2 separate regions of the Homo sapiens genome follow, and region 1 is linked to region 2. The links are contacts of gene promoters, found by promoter capture Hi-C in blood cells and fetal thymus (Javierre and others, 2016). All regions are on one chromosome and are shown on one strand. The core of a region is centred on a gene start or on the middle of the fragment in contact, and the rest is flanking DNA. Distances in the headings are between cores, read along the strand shown. Region 1 overlaps MLPH (melanophilin). Region 2 holds the start of LINC02610 (long intergenic non-protein coding RNA 2610).

Region 1 (6,990 bases), core at 1,007-3,506, 730 kb before region 2:
TGACCATGGAACGACTCCACAGCTCTCTGGGCTCACATTGGATGATGACCTCTTTCAGCTTCATCTCTATTGTCTCCTTTAACCCTCAGACACCCCTGTGATGTGGTTACTTTTACTGGCCCCATGCACAAGTGAGAAACTGAGTCTGGGGCGGGTTACCCAGCTGTGATGAATATCTGGTAAATGTTTACTTTTAGCATTCGCGGGTCTATCTGCAGTGAGTGAGAGCTTGCTGTGTATTGGTGTATTGTCTCGTATTATTGTTCCTCTCATCTCCTATTTCCCCCATAAATATATATTACATCTAAAATAATTCACTCTAGGCCAGGTACAGTGGCTCACACCTGTAATCCCAGCACTTTGAGAGGCCGAAGAGGGTGGATCACCTGAGGTCAAGAGTTCGAGGCCAGCCTGGCTAACATAGTGAAACCACGTCTCTACTAAAAAAAAAAAAAAAAAAAAAAAAATACAAAAAAATTAGCCAGGCATGGTGGCAGGTGCCTGTAATCCCAGCTACTCAGGAGGCTGAGGCAAGAAAATTGCTTGAACCTGGGAGGCGGAGGTTGCATGAGCTGAGATCGCGCCACTGCACTCCTCAAAAAATAATAATAATAATAAATAAAATAATTAGATCTAATTCCTTAAATATCTAATGTGTGTTAAAACTTTTCCGCTCATCTCCAAATAATGTCCAGACCTTACACTTGCTTGCTGTATCTTTTAAGTCTCTTTGAATCTGTAAGATCTCTTTTCAGCTCTGTTTTTTTAATTTGAAGCTTATGTGTAGAAGAAAGCTAGCTGTTTACTTTTGTGGAATTTTTCACAGTCTGGAGTTAGCTGAGGATATCCTCGTGATGTTTGCACCAAAGTTCCATTGTCCCTGTTTTCCTGTAATCTGGTGGTGAGTTCCATAGAAGTGGTCCTCAGAGTGCTCTCATCTTGAGTGTTTTAGATTCATTCATATCACTTGGGTATTAAGAAGGTTTTAAGTACAGAAAAGATTATCACATGTTATTATTTTTTAATGTTCTACAAATACAAAGTAGGGCCAAAGTAAACCTTCTTGAAGGGAACATTGGTTAATAGTCACAGCTTTTAACTCCTTCTGTCCCCAGAAGAGCCCAGAACTTCTTAGGCACCCATCCCTGTCCTGGACCCAAGGGACCTGGGGCTGTGCACAAAAGGAGCAGGCCTCCTCCTGGGCACCCTGGAGCTTGCATTGGTGCTGATTTGTGTCTTGCTTTGTATCATGCTTGTGTCAAGTTCTCCCAGTAACTGCTTTCTGCATTTGTTAGGGTAGCCCCTCAGCTGTGGTTATGGTAGAAATTAATGGATATTCTCCAAACCCAGGAAGAACTAGGAGACCATGCATAGCCGGACTTGGGTGACTCATGCCCTGGGGGAAAGGCTGAAGCCCAAACGGAACACCCTGTTTTAAAGGACACAGCCTACAAATCAAATATTAGGACTGCCAACCTGCCCTGGAAAGGCAAATAGGTGGTGACGTGGATTTGTGATCTCTGCAAACAGAGGAGGTTCAGAGAGAATCTGTGAAGGGTCTCCTAGTATGAGACACGGGCAAACCGTGGCTTGCTTTAAAAAAAATTTTTTTTTGACCAGGCTCGGTGACTGATGCCTGTAACCCTAGCACTTTGGGAGGCCGAGGCAGGTGGTTCACCTGAGGTCAGGAGTTCGAGACCAGCCTGGTCAGCATGGCGAAACCCCATCTCTACTAAAAATACAAAAATTAGCCAGCCATGATGGCAGGCGCCTGTTGTCTCAGCTACTCAGGAGGCTGAGGCAGGAGAATCGCTTGAACCCGGGGGGCAAAGGTTGCAGTCAGCCAAGATCACACCACTTCAGTCCAGCCTGGGCAGCAGAGCGAAATTCCATCTCAAAAATAAATACATAAATAAATAATAAAAATCCATTTTTTTGATCATAAGGAATTTGAAATCACCCTTAGCCGGACTAGTTGGAATCACGGACACAGGCAACTCTAGAGATGAAAAAAATAGGGGCTAAAACAGGGACTCCGCTGCCAAGGCAGGGCCTGGAGGGGAACATTGGTCTGAGATGTTTTAGGAGATACTCTGAGGCTCCGTCTCTCAGCGCCTGCCGTTCTCACATCACCACTCACTTCCTCTTCATCTTTTTTATCGTCATCTTGGTCTTCCCCTTTAGAGGATCTCCAGGAACTTGAGTGAGTTTCCAGCTCCCTCGTGGTAATTCCCGACACGCGTTCCCAGGATGAGGAGCCTGGGTCCCCGGTGCTGCTCCTCAGCAATGCTGCCGTCTTTCCGTCCTCTGCCAGCCGTTAGCCCTGACGTGAGGTTTACTTTGGTTGCCACGCTTTCAGTCATTTGGCCCCTGGATCCTGTGACTCACTGGATCTTTTGTGCTCCAGTCCCCAACTCAGGGTCACCCTCAGGAATCATTTCTCCATTACCTGGGGTCTGTCCTCAGGCTGTTTTCTCAGGCATGGCATGGAGTGTGGATTTTGTCTTTGAGGATCTGTTCCACTTGCCTGGGAGTACAATCTGACCTCACACGCTTTCCCCTACAGGCTGTGGGGATGCTTACCGGTGGTAAGCAGAATAATCCCCCCCAAAAAGATGTCTACTTCCCAACCCCAAGAACCTCTGAATTCGTGAGGCTATACAGAAATGGGATTATGCATTTTAGGCTGCCCACCTGCTGGCCTGGACCTGGGAGATGATCCCGGGTTCCCTGGGCGGGCCTAATATCATCACAGGGGCCTTAGAAGCAGAAGGGATGGCTGGTTTTGAAGATGGAGAAAGGGGCCAGGAGCCCACATACCTGAAGCCCTCAAGAAGCTAAACTGCCAGAGAGCAGATTCCCCTCTGGGGGCTCCAGGAGGTGCCACAATCCTGCCGACACCTTGATGTTAGCTCAATGAATCCTGAGTCAAACTTCTGCCCTCCAGAGCTGTCAGGTAATGCATTTGCATTGTTTTTGTATTGTGTTTATTTTATTTTATTTTGTTTTTTGAGGTGGAGTTTTGCTCTTACTGCCCAGGCTGGAGTGCAGTGGCGCAATCTCAGCTCACTGCAACCTCCACCTCCTGGGTTTAAGCGATTCTCCTGTCTCAGCCTCCCAAGTAGCTGGGATTACAGGTGCCCACCACCACACGGGGCTGATTTTTTGTATTTTTAGTAGAGATGGGGATTCACCATGTTGGCCAGGCTGGTCTCGAACTCCTGACCTCAGGTGATCCACCCACCTTGGCCTCCCAAAGTGCTGGGATTACAGGTGTGAGCCACCGCAACTGACCAGCATTTGCATTGTTTTAAGCCATGGAGTTGGTGGAGCTCTGAAATGGCAGCAGTTGGACGGGAGCCACTGCCCCACGGCCAGCCCTCAGCCTTGCAGAAGGGCCCCCTGCATGACCTCCACTCTGTTGGAGGCCGCCGGTTCTGTCCACCATGCTGGTAGGGATTTTGCCCGCCCTATAACAGAGTGGTCTTGTCAGTCTGTGTAGGCATCTCCTACCATCCAGCGACCCCTCTAATCTGAAGACTCAGCTCTTTCTTTGTTTCTTCTCTCTGGTTAGGAGAGTTTTCCTGTGTTGTTAGGGTGACGGCTGCCTCAGTGGCATGGCAAAAACTCATGGTCGAAAACTTCACCCAACCAAGCCGTGCAAAGGAAATACAGGTCTTTTATTTCCCATCTGCTCCCCCTCGTGAGACCCCACCCCTTGAGCAGCAAGACAGTGCAAGCTTCAGGGCTTCAGATCTCCCAGACTCTGCTCACTTACCGGGTCTCTGTTCCTGGCTCAGCTTCTCTTCCAGAGCTCCCCACAACCCCACCTCTGCTCCCCAACCCATGCTTTTGGCCAGGCCAGCAGCTGGGCCTTGGGAGAAAGGCTCATGACCCTCCCGGTGGCCAGGTTGATGGGGTCTGGACTCCACACACTGTCCCCACCTCCTTGCTGGTCCTGATGCAGAGTGGAGGGCAGGTCAGCTTGCAGGATGGGGACCGCTGGCTGGTATGTGAAGGGTACTGGCCGGGCACTGAGATACGGATGGCACCCACCACTGAGACCCTGATCCCAGCCACATACCCACGTGCTGTGGCCTCTTCCACCAACCCCAAGCCTCTGCCAGTCCCCTGGCTGCTCCTCATCGCATGCAGTCCTGCTGGAGCATGGTTTAAGGATCACAGGGATGTGGATTCCCCACCACCCCAGCACCCAACGCAAGTGGAGGCCCACAGGACCCCTCATGCAGGCTCTTCCCCCGCCTGTGTGCTGGACCTTGGGGATGGCCACAGTGGGAGCTTCCCCCTGCTGTGCCTTCAGGGGTGGCCACCAGCCCCGCCATCCTGGGCTCTCCCCAGTATTCCTGCATGTTGCCACCACACCCCTGTCTAGATTTCACCCCAAGAGGGGCAGAGCAGGGCACAGGTCTGACCCCTTCACCCTGCGTGGCTCACCAATCCTGTCCAGACCCCATCATAGGAGCGGCCTTTCCTTCCTGTTCCCGTCCTAGAAGCGTTTTCCTTCCCTGGTATACGCCCTTTCTTCAGAGGCTGCCGGGCCTCCCTTGAGGACAGGAGTGCCCCCTTGGCTCTGTTCTGCCCCACCAGTCACAGCTCTGGCATGCGTGTCCCAGGGCCCTCTGGAGGTGGGACTGCAGAGGACAGTAATGTGGGTCCCCTGCCCCAAGGACAAGGACAGCACTTCCCTTCCACCCCCATGCATCCCCGTCTCCAGGGCTCTGTCTCCCCTGGGAGCTCACTTTCTCGGCCTTTGCCATCATCTCCCCACTGTCTCCCATCGCTTAGTCCCTTTTCTCCACATTCTGGGAGGGAGAGCAAACTTGACTTCGAAATCAGCAGTTCTCAAACCTTTGGGCCTCAGGACCCCTTCACATTTCCTAAATTACTGAGAACCCCAAAGAGTTTTATTCATATGGGTCATATCTATTAATATTTACCACATCAGAAATTAAAACTGGGAGTTAAAAATATTTATTTATTCACTCATTTAAAAATAACAGTAAACCCCCTACATGTTAATATAAATACAGTTTTTATAAAAAATGAGATTTTCCCAAAATCAGAGTGTGAGTAAGGTGAGTGGTGTTGTTCTGCTTTTGCAAATCTCTTTAATGTCTGTGTAGCAGGACAAGCCACAGACAAGAACTCCTCAGACACCGAATTGTAGAAGGAAAGGGCTTTATTCAGCTGGGAGCATCGGCAGACTCACGTCTCCAAAAACCAAGTTCCTCGAGTGAGCAATTCCTGTCCCTTTTAAGGGCTTACAACTCTAAGGGGGTTCATGTGAGAGGGTCATGATCGATTGAGCAAGCAGGGGGTACGTGACTGGGGGCTACATGCACCTGCACCAGTAATTAGAATGGAACAGAACAGGACAGGGATTTTCACAATGCTTTTCCGTGCAATGTCTGTAATCTATAGATAACATAACTGATTAGGTCAGGGGTCGATCTTTAACTACCAGGCCCAGGGTGTGGCGCTGGGCTGTCTGCCTGTGGATTTCATTTCTGCCTTTTAGTTTTTACTTCTTTTTTCTTTGGAGGCAGAAATTGGGCATAAGACAATATGAGGGGTGGTCTCCTCCCTTATCTGGAACAATAGAAGATGGGTGAATTCTCCACTTGCTTCTGCATTCAGTGGGTCGTAACATGTTTTCTAGGCTGTAGTATTTGAAGAAAATCTAGGCTCATACAGATACATAATTGAAAAAAGGAGTACTTGAATAGCCTTTGTAGACAATAATTAACATCATGTGTTGTTACAACATGAAAACCCGGCAGTTGGAGTTGGTAGTTTTTTTCCTTTTTCTTTTTTTTTTCTTTTTTTTTTTTTTTTTTTTTGAGACAAAGTCTCTCTCTGCCACCCTTGGATGGAGTGCAGTAGCGTAATCTCGGCTTACTGCAACCTCCACCTCCTAGGTTCAAGCGATTCCCCTGCCTCAGCCTCCTAAGTAGCTGTGACTACAGGTGCGTGCCACCATGTCTGGCTAATTTTTGCATTTTTAGTAGAGACAGGGTTTCACCACATTGGCCGAGCTAGTCTCAAACTCCTGACCTCAAGTGATCTGCCTGCCTCAGCCTCCCAAAGTGCTGGAATTACAGGCATGAGCCACTGCGCCCGGCCAGTTGGTAGTTTCTTAAAGGTTAGTTGTGATGTGGAATCTGAAACCATGTTAATGAACTTTTCCTTTTCTGTTTGTTCAAATCCATTGGTCTCTCTTGCACTTGAAGTGGATTTTCTACCCCTGTGTGATTTTTGTAACACCATGCATTAATCATTTGGAAGACACCGGCTCACTGAGTGATGCAGACTTCTCAAATGTTGACACATTTCATATGCACACCAAAAGAGAACCACTTCTGTTACTCTCACCAGCGATCTCATCAAAAGTCTCCCGGTGTTGGAAACCCTCATCAAAAGTCTCCCAGTGTTGCAAACTGTCAAGCTCACAGCAGGCGATATATGTTTTCCAGAATTCTACTTTGTGCTTGAAAGCTTCCGTTTTATTACTGGCAATAAATACTGTCACTTCTTTTCCTTGAAGTGAGAGTCGCACTTTGTTCATTTTTGAGAAAATATCTGCCAAGTACCCAAGTCGAAACAGTTCATCTCTCTGTTGTTCTCTCAAGTGAAAATGCTATTTCATAAGAAAAGTTTCTAGCTCAGGTGGCGATCGGAACAATTGCCCAATCCTTTTAATAGAAATATCTGTCACCTTCAACACGTGGCACAAGAGCTTCCTGTCCTCCTCCAAGCTCATCAGGCAGAATCCTCAAAAGACATGGACTGGGGGCCACGGTTCAAAAAGACTCATAACTTTTAGGGTTTCATCAAGGTGATTCTTTAATGAAACTGTTTTTTCTTCTCATTTCTTTTTCTTTTTTTTGAGACAGAATCTCACTCTGTCACCCACGCTGGAGTGCAGTGACACAATCTCGGCTCACTGCAACCTCTGCTTCCCTGGTTCAA
Region 2 (6,914 bases), core at 4,354-6,853:
AAGATCGAGGCCCTCACTCTAATAGCCCATGAGGAACTGAATCCTGCCCACAGGCGCGGGGCCAGCAGAGAAGCCGAGCCTCCCCGCACGGAGCGTGCAATCTACTCACAGTCCGGCCGGGCCCTGACTGAGGCCTCGGGAGGGACCTTGAGGCAGAGGCTCCTTCCCCGGGCCTGGATGTCTGACCCACAGACACTGTGCAGCTACGTTTGTTTGAAGGCACTAAACTGCGGGCAATTTGTTACACAGCAATCGACAACTTTCTGTTCCCTATTTCTGTTCTTTCTCTTCAACAGGGCTGGGTGTGGAGTGGCCCACTCCTGCCAGCCCTGCTCTGCGCACCCTCATGGGCTGAGCTGTGGGGTGAGCCGGGCCCTGTCTTCCTCCCTGCCCTGGCCCTGTCCCCCGATGCCCACCCCCGAGAGTGGGGAGGGCGGTGGGGCTGCGTGGACTCTGATAAGCCTTCCAGTTCCAACTGCCAGGGCGCTGCTGCCCAGGGAGCCGTGAGGAGCGAGGTCGGGCATGCACGAGCTCTGCCTCTGATGGTAAGAAGGGGAGAGAGGGAAATGGGGTGAAGCTAGCGAAGGCAGCACGCGCCCCAGGGCAGACCCCACGCGCCAACACAGCCAAATTCCCAGCAGTGGGAAGGCCCTGCACTTCACTCCTGCCCTGTCACTGGGAAATTCCCAAGTCAAGATGGGGAGCATGGTGGCGCCTGGGGTCTGAAAGGCAAGGCCCCCTCCTCTGTCTCATCCTCCAACCTCTACCTGTCCTGCAGGGCTCACATGCCACCTCCTCCAGGAAGCCTTCCTTCAGGAGCCTGCCTGTCAGAGGTCATCTCACCTTTTTCTCATCTCCCATGCCCTGTTGATTGTTCTCTCATTGCCTTGATTCCTATACACAAATGGTCAGGAAATGTCTGTCCCTCGGAAATTCCACTCTCCTTAAGACAGAGGCCCTGCTCCACCAGGAGCAGCTAAAATTTCCTATTGAGACTCCTCCTGGTTACAGGGGCACAGGTTGCCCCCAGGGATCTGTTCTCAGCTTCCCAAAGGCAGGGTGTGCCTCCTCCCACCTTCCCGCATGCTGCCGGTGCCACAGAACCTGTGCAGGGCCCAGGGGAGGCGCCCACACACTGTACTTGTAGGGCACAAAGGGACAGCCCTCTCTCTCCAGAAGTCCAGGGACTCAGCCTTGGTGCAGACTGGGTCTTAGGCAAGGCAAAGCCAGAGGACAGGATCTGCACGGACTTCTGGAAGAGGAACCAGCCAGCAGCCAGCCTCCTGAGAGGAGCTAGAGGTCTGGGGGTTCTCACCTGATCCTTAGCTAGAAAACTAGGGCTGGGCTCAGGGCGTGCCCCAGGGCTATTTTGTTCCATGCCATGTGCCGCTCCCAGGAGAAGTGGTACTTCTCCCTCCTGACTCTGTCCCCACCTCCCTAAACAAGCCTGTGGCCCTTTAACAAAGCCCAGAGTCCCATTAAAGATCCTGCCTGGTGCTGGTCCTCAGCTACATGGACTGGGTGGCCCTTTTTATAAGGAATGGCAGCATCAGTTCCCCCTTTCCAGCGGCCTTCTCCACAGGGCTGGCCTGACTCCCCACAGCACTCACCTGGGCAAGTGCGGGCCCATTCCCCGGCTGTCCTCCTGCTGTCCCCCGCAGGTCTTTCTCAGCATGGTGAACATGGGAGCCGGGGCTCTGTCTGCATGAGGGAGGTGCTCAGACCCTGCAGGGCGGGAACAAGGTGGAGGAAGTCGCTGGCGCTGCAGAAGCTGGGCAGTCACCCCCTCCACACCCACTACCAGGGAAGGGGCAGGAAGCATCAGGGGAGTCACCTGCTCTCGTCTGAGAGGGAGGTAGAGGCAGAGGGAGGCTAGAGAAAGACAAAGAAGGCAAGGCGGGGCAGAGGCAGGGAAAGCCCAGCAAAAGTGGGTTGGAGGAAGAGACAGAAACAGGGACGAGAGAATGAAAGAAACAGAGAGAGGCAGAGAGACAGGGAAGAGAGGAGAGAGGAAGGGAGCCAGAGAGAGGAAGAGAGAGCTGGTGAGATGGGGAACAGAAGGATATGAAGGCAGGGGAGGATGAAGACGCAAAGAGAACGAGGTGGAAACAAAGAGAAAGGGAATTCCAACCAACAGTAGGCACTGAGAAAACGGCTTTCCATGCTATTTCATTCAACCCTCAAAACAAGTAGGTACTACTGCCATTCCCATGATGTGGATGAAGAGACAACGGTTTAAGAGATAAAGAGGCAGGAGAGAGAAAATATGAGGCAGGAATACAGACAAGACAGAGACTGCGTATTCAAGGATCAAGAGACAACAGGCTGGGCGTGGTGGCTCACGCCTGTAATCCTAGCACTTTGGGAGGCTGAGGCAGGTGGATCACCTGAGGTCAGGAGTTCGAGGCCAGCCTGGCCAACATGGTGAAACTTCGTCTCTACTAAAAATACAAAAATTAGCTGGGTGTGGCGGCGGGCGCCTATAATCCCAGCTACTTGGGAGGCTGAGGCAGAAGAATTACTTGAACCCAGGAGGAGGAAGTTGCAGTGAGCGGAGATCGTGCCACTGCACTCCAGCCTGGACAACAAAGCACAAACTCTGTCTCAAAAAAAAAAAAAAAAAAAAAAAAAAAGACAACAACAACCCAACAGCCTAACTGCCCATAACAGCATAAACTTGAGAAGAAATGCTGTCTGTCTCCAGCAACTAGAAGAATGCCTGACAAAGAGCAGGCCTCCAGTTAACAACTGTGGAATGAACAAGCAAACATTATCTGGACTATGCCGTCAGGGAAATAAAAGAAGCCTTGGAAACTGCATAAAACGAGGAGTGACCAGGAAAGGCTTCAGGCAGGCAGTCTATCTGAGCCAAACCTGGAGGCATGCAGAGGGCAGAGCAGCGGCTTTGGCCATGCAGCAAACCAAATATCTGGCAAGGGCATGGAGACAGAAGGTGGTGGAGGGGGTGTGGAGGCAGTCAGTAAGTTCTGAGTTGGCCCACGTGAGGACCAGGCCTACTATTCTTTGAGAATCTGCAGTGTTGGGCTTTTGAAAAGACTGAAGCTCAGGGCGTAACCTTCAAGGTGGGGGTTTTCTTAATGACCACTGCCATTCTCCAGGTGACAGCCAAGAACCTGAACTACGAATGCAGGAGCCGGACAGGGGGAAAGGGACGTCTAAGACTCATCCTCTTGTTCGTTCAACCTGTTGAAGTGGCAGGATTGCCAGTTCCTGGACGCTACCTGCAGGGCTCCAGTGTCCCCTGGAACCTGGGAGGTCAAGGTTGCCCAGGCAGGGCTCCAGGGAGGTGTCTCCATGGACCGTCTGGTTTCCAGCCTGAAGGATTGATGCCCTTGTTGCTCTGAAGGATCCAGAACATGAAGGGAGGAGCAGGTTTTGTTGGAAAGCTGAGTTCACATTTGAACTTGTTGCAGAACCTGTGGGATTCCTGAGAGGCGACAGCCAGGGGCATTTGGATAAACTCTATGAGAGCTCCAGAGAGGGCTGGGCTGGAAATAGATTTTGCAGCTGGTAGCACAGCAGGTGAAGCCATGGAGATCATACAGATTACAGCCTAGAAGCTAGAGAAGAGGGCCTAGCAAAGAAATGTGGGGCACAATATTTAAGAAGACAATATTCGCCGGGCACGGTGGCTCATGCTTATAACCCCAGCACTTTGGGAGTGAGGCAGGTGGATTGCTGGACCAGCCTGGGCAACACTACAAACATCTCTCTCTACAAAAAAAATACAAAAATCAGCCAGGCATGGTGATGTGCGCCTATAGTCCCAGCTACTTAGGAGGCTGAGGTGGGAGGATCACTTGAGTCTGGGAGGTCGAGGTTGCAGTGAGCCATGATCGTACCACTGCACTCCAGCCTCCAGCCTGAGACAGAGTGAGAACCTGTCTCAAAAAAAAAAAAAAAAAAGACAACATTTAATATCCAGTTGTGAAGAGCCACTGCCAGAACCTGAGAAGGAATGGTGGAACAAGAAGAGCAAGAAGACTAGACAGAGAACAATTTTTTGAGATAAGGTCTCACTCCCATTGTCCAGGCCAGAGCACACTGGCGTGATCTCAATTCACCGCAGCCTTGACTTCCCGGGCTCCAGTGATACTCCCACCTCAGCCTCTCGAGTGGCTGGGACTACAGGTGCGGGCCACCATGTCTGGCTAATTTTTTGCATTTTTGGTAGAGATGGAGTCTTGCTATGTTGCCCAGGCTGGTCTTGAACTCCTGGGCTCAAGCGATCTGCCTAACTCAGCCTCCCAAAGTGCCGGGATTACAGGTGTGAGCCACCGTGCTCTGGCAAGAACAATGTTTTAAGAAGCATGAGGATGTTGAGTATCAAATGCCGCAAAGTTCGGGTGAGAAAACTGAAGAGTCTACTCGGCAATCAGGAGTTCATTGGAGACTCTGGCAGAAGTTTTCTATAGTAGAATGGCAGGAAATGTAGCCATACTGAAATTTTGTTAGGGACAAACAGGTGATGAGGAAATGAAGAAAATGAGAATGAAGACTGTTTTTAAGAAACTGGAGTGTGAAGAAAACAGTAGGACAATAAGTAAGAAACCTCAACGGGGTGTGAGGACAAGTTCCCCAGGATAAAGTGGATAAGATGGAGGTTGGCACTTAAGATTTGGAGCAGGTTCAACAGAGAGGAATGGCAAGGTTTGAGGGATGGTTCCTGACGTCTAAGGGCGCATTTAATATTCTTTCAAGGTTAAGGTGGGGCAAGATCTGGAGGAGAGAGGATAGTACCCCAAGTGTCATCATCCATTGACAGGTCAATAGGTAGTACAGCGACATGGGAACAGAGCAGGTGTGCACAGAAAGCATGGTTTCCCAGGGAGGGCAGTATTTTTCCATGAGGATGCAAGAGTGAAAAGCCTGGGAGATTCCACGAAGAGCTGAGGGGCTTCTGAGCCACAGCTTAAACCTTAACCCTCCTCCTCTCAGATACATTCAAATCCAAGTACTGATAATAATCTAGTAAGACCTGGGCTTCCCTGGCTACCGTCTATCAAGGAATGCCAGTGTCTGCCTCTGGGCAGTGCGCGTTGGATTTGGGTTCTCTGCGGGGTCTTGCTGATCTTAAAGACAATGCAGGGGCCTTGTGAGTCTCACCTCTGTACCCCCAGCACATAACAGGTGCTCAACACATTCGCGAGGGGAGCGCTGAGCAAAGCGGAGGCCCGGGTTCCCTCCTGGAGAAACCTGCTTCCCCTCCAAGGCCTCAAGCGTCCGCTCCTTCACTGACCTCAATCGTTGATTTCGGCTGCACTTCCTATCCCTGGGGGAGCTTTCAACGCTCCGCCGTCCAGGCCGCCGGGCCCCGCAGCCCGCGCCCCGCTCTCTAGGGCTGGGCCCCCAGGGGCTGGACGACCTCTCTCGCCTTCGCTTTCTCAAGCGTAAATCGGGCGGCGGGGGCTGCAGAGCCTTCATCTCTTCCTCCGTCCCGGGATGTCGGAGAGACGGCAGCCCAGCCTCCGCCACCGCAAAGCTGCTTAACGGGCAGCGCGAGTCCCTCGGGCACCGTTGGAGGCCGTTGCTCACCGTTGGGCAAGTGCTTTAAGAAGCACGAGGATGTCGAGTGTCAAATGCGGCAAAGGGCTCAGAGCTCGCCGCCAAGGGGCGTGGCCTCCGGGCCGCGGCGGCCTCTGGGAGTTGTAGTCCCGCCTCAACTTGTGGTGGCCTCTTTAAAAAAACAAAAAACAAACAAACAAAAAAACACTGGCGCTTGGGTCCGTCGCTGCCTCGGTGTCCCTGTCGGGCTTCCCAGCAGCGGCCTAGTGGAAAAGTAAAAGATGTCTGAATATATTCGGGTAACCGAAGATGAGAACGATGAGCCCATTGAAATACCATCGGAAGACGATGGGACGGTGCTGCTGTCCACGGTTACAGCCCAGTTTCCAGGGGCGTGTGGGCTTCGCTGCAGGAATCCGGTGTCTCAATGTATGAGAGGTGTCCGGCTGGTAGAAGGAATTCTGCATGCCCCCGATGCTGGCTGGAGAAATCCGGTGTATGTTGTCAACTATCCGAAAGATAACAAAAGAAAAATGGGTGAGACAGAAGCTTCATCAGCAGTGAAAGTGAAAAGACCAGTCCGATTTAATAGTGTTGGGTCTCCCATGGAAAACAACTGAACAGGACCTGAAAGAGTACTGTAGTACCTTTGGAGACGTTCTTATGGTGCGGCAAAGCCAAGATGAGCCTTTGAGAAGCAGAAAAGTGTTTGTGGGGCGCCGTACGGAGGACATGACTGAGGATGAGCTGTGGGAGTTCTTCTCTCAGTATGGGGATGTGATGGATGTCTTCGTCCCCAAGCCGTTCAGGGCCTTTGCCTTTGTTCCATTTGCAGATGATCAGATTGCGCGGTCTCTTTGTGGAGAGGACTCGATGAAAGGAATCAGCGTTCACATATCCAATGCCGAACCCAAGCGCAATAGCAATAGACAGCAAGAAGTGGAAGATTTGGTGGTAATCCAGGTGGCTTTGGGAATCAGGGTGGATTTGGTAAGAGTAGAGGGGGTGGAGCTGGTTTGGGAAACAATCAAGGTAGTAATATGGGTGGTGGGATAAACTTTGGTGCGTTCAGCATTAATCCAGCCATGATGGCTGCCCCCCAGGCAGTGCTGCAGAGCAGTTGGTGTACGATGGGTGTGTTAGCCAGCCAGCGAAGCAGCCAGGCCCATCGGATGATAACCAAAGCCAAGGCAACATGCAGAGGGAGCCAAACCAGGCCTTCGGTTCTGGAAATAACTCTTGTAGTGGTTCTAATTTTGGTGCAACAATTGGTTGGGGATCAGCATCCAATGCAGGGTCGGGCAGTGGTTTTAATGGCGGCTTTGGCTCAAGCATGGATTCTAAGTCTTCTGGCTGGGAACGTAGACAGTGGGGTTGTGGTTGGTTGG

Evidence for each region. Contacts are between HindIII fragments. The CHiCAGO score rates a contact against its expected background, and 5 or more counts as called.
Region 1: a contact is called between a fragment that was not itself captured here and the fragment with the promoter of LINC02610 in region 2, in 1 of 17 cell types (naive B cells). The highest score is 5.8, in naive B cells.

Annotation. Positions count from the first base shown.
Region 1 is chr2:237,501,223-237,508,212 of GRCh38, forward strand. All of the region lies in intron 2 of MLPH (melanophilin), which reads left to right. Among named protein-coding and RNA genes, the nearest start is that of MIR6811, 6.2 kb to the right of the region's middle. The HindIII fragment of the contact is 2,964 bases long and covers 775-3,738 here.
Region 2 is chr2:238,226,074-238,232,987 of GRCh38, forward strand. It overlaps LINC02610 (long intergenic non-protein coding RNA 2610), which reads right to left and starts at 5,604. Exons shown (of 3, transcript NR_026926.1): 1 at 5,261-5,604; 2 at 1,611-1,725. It also overlaps the pseudogene TARDBPP3. The HindIII fragment of the contact is 6,584 bases long and covers 1-6,073 here.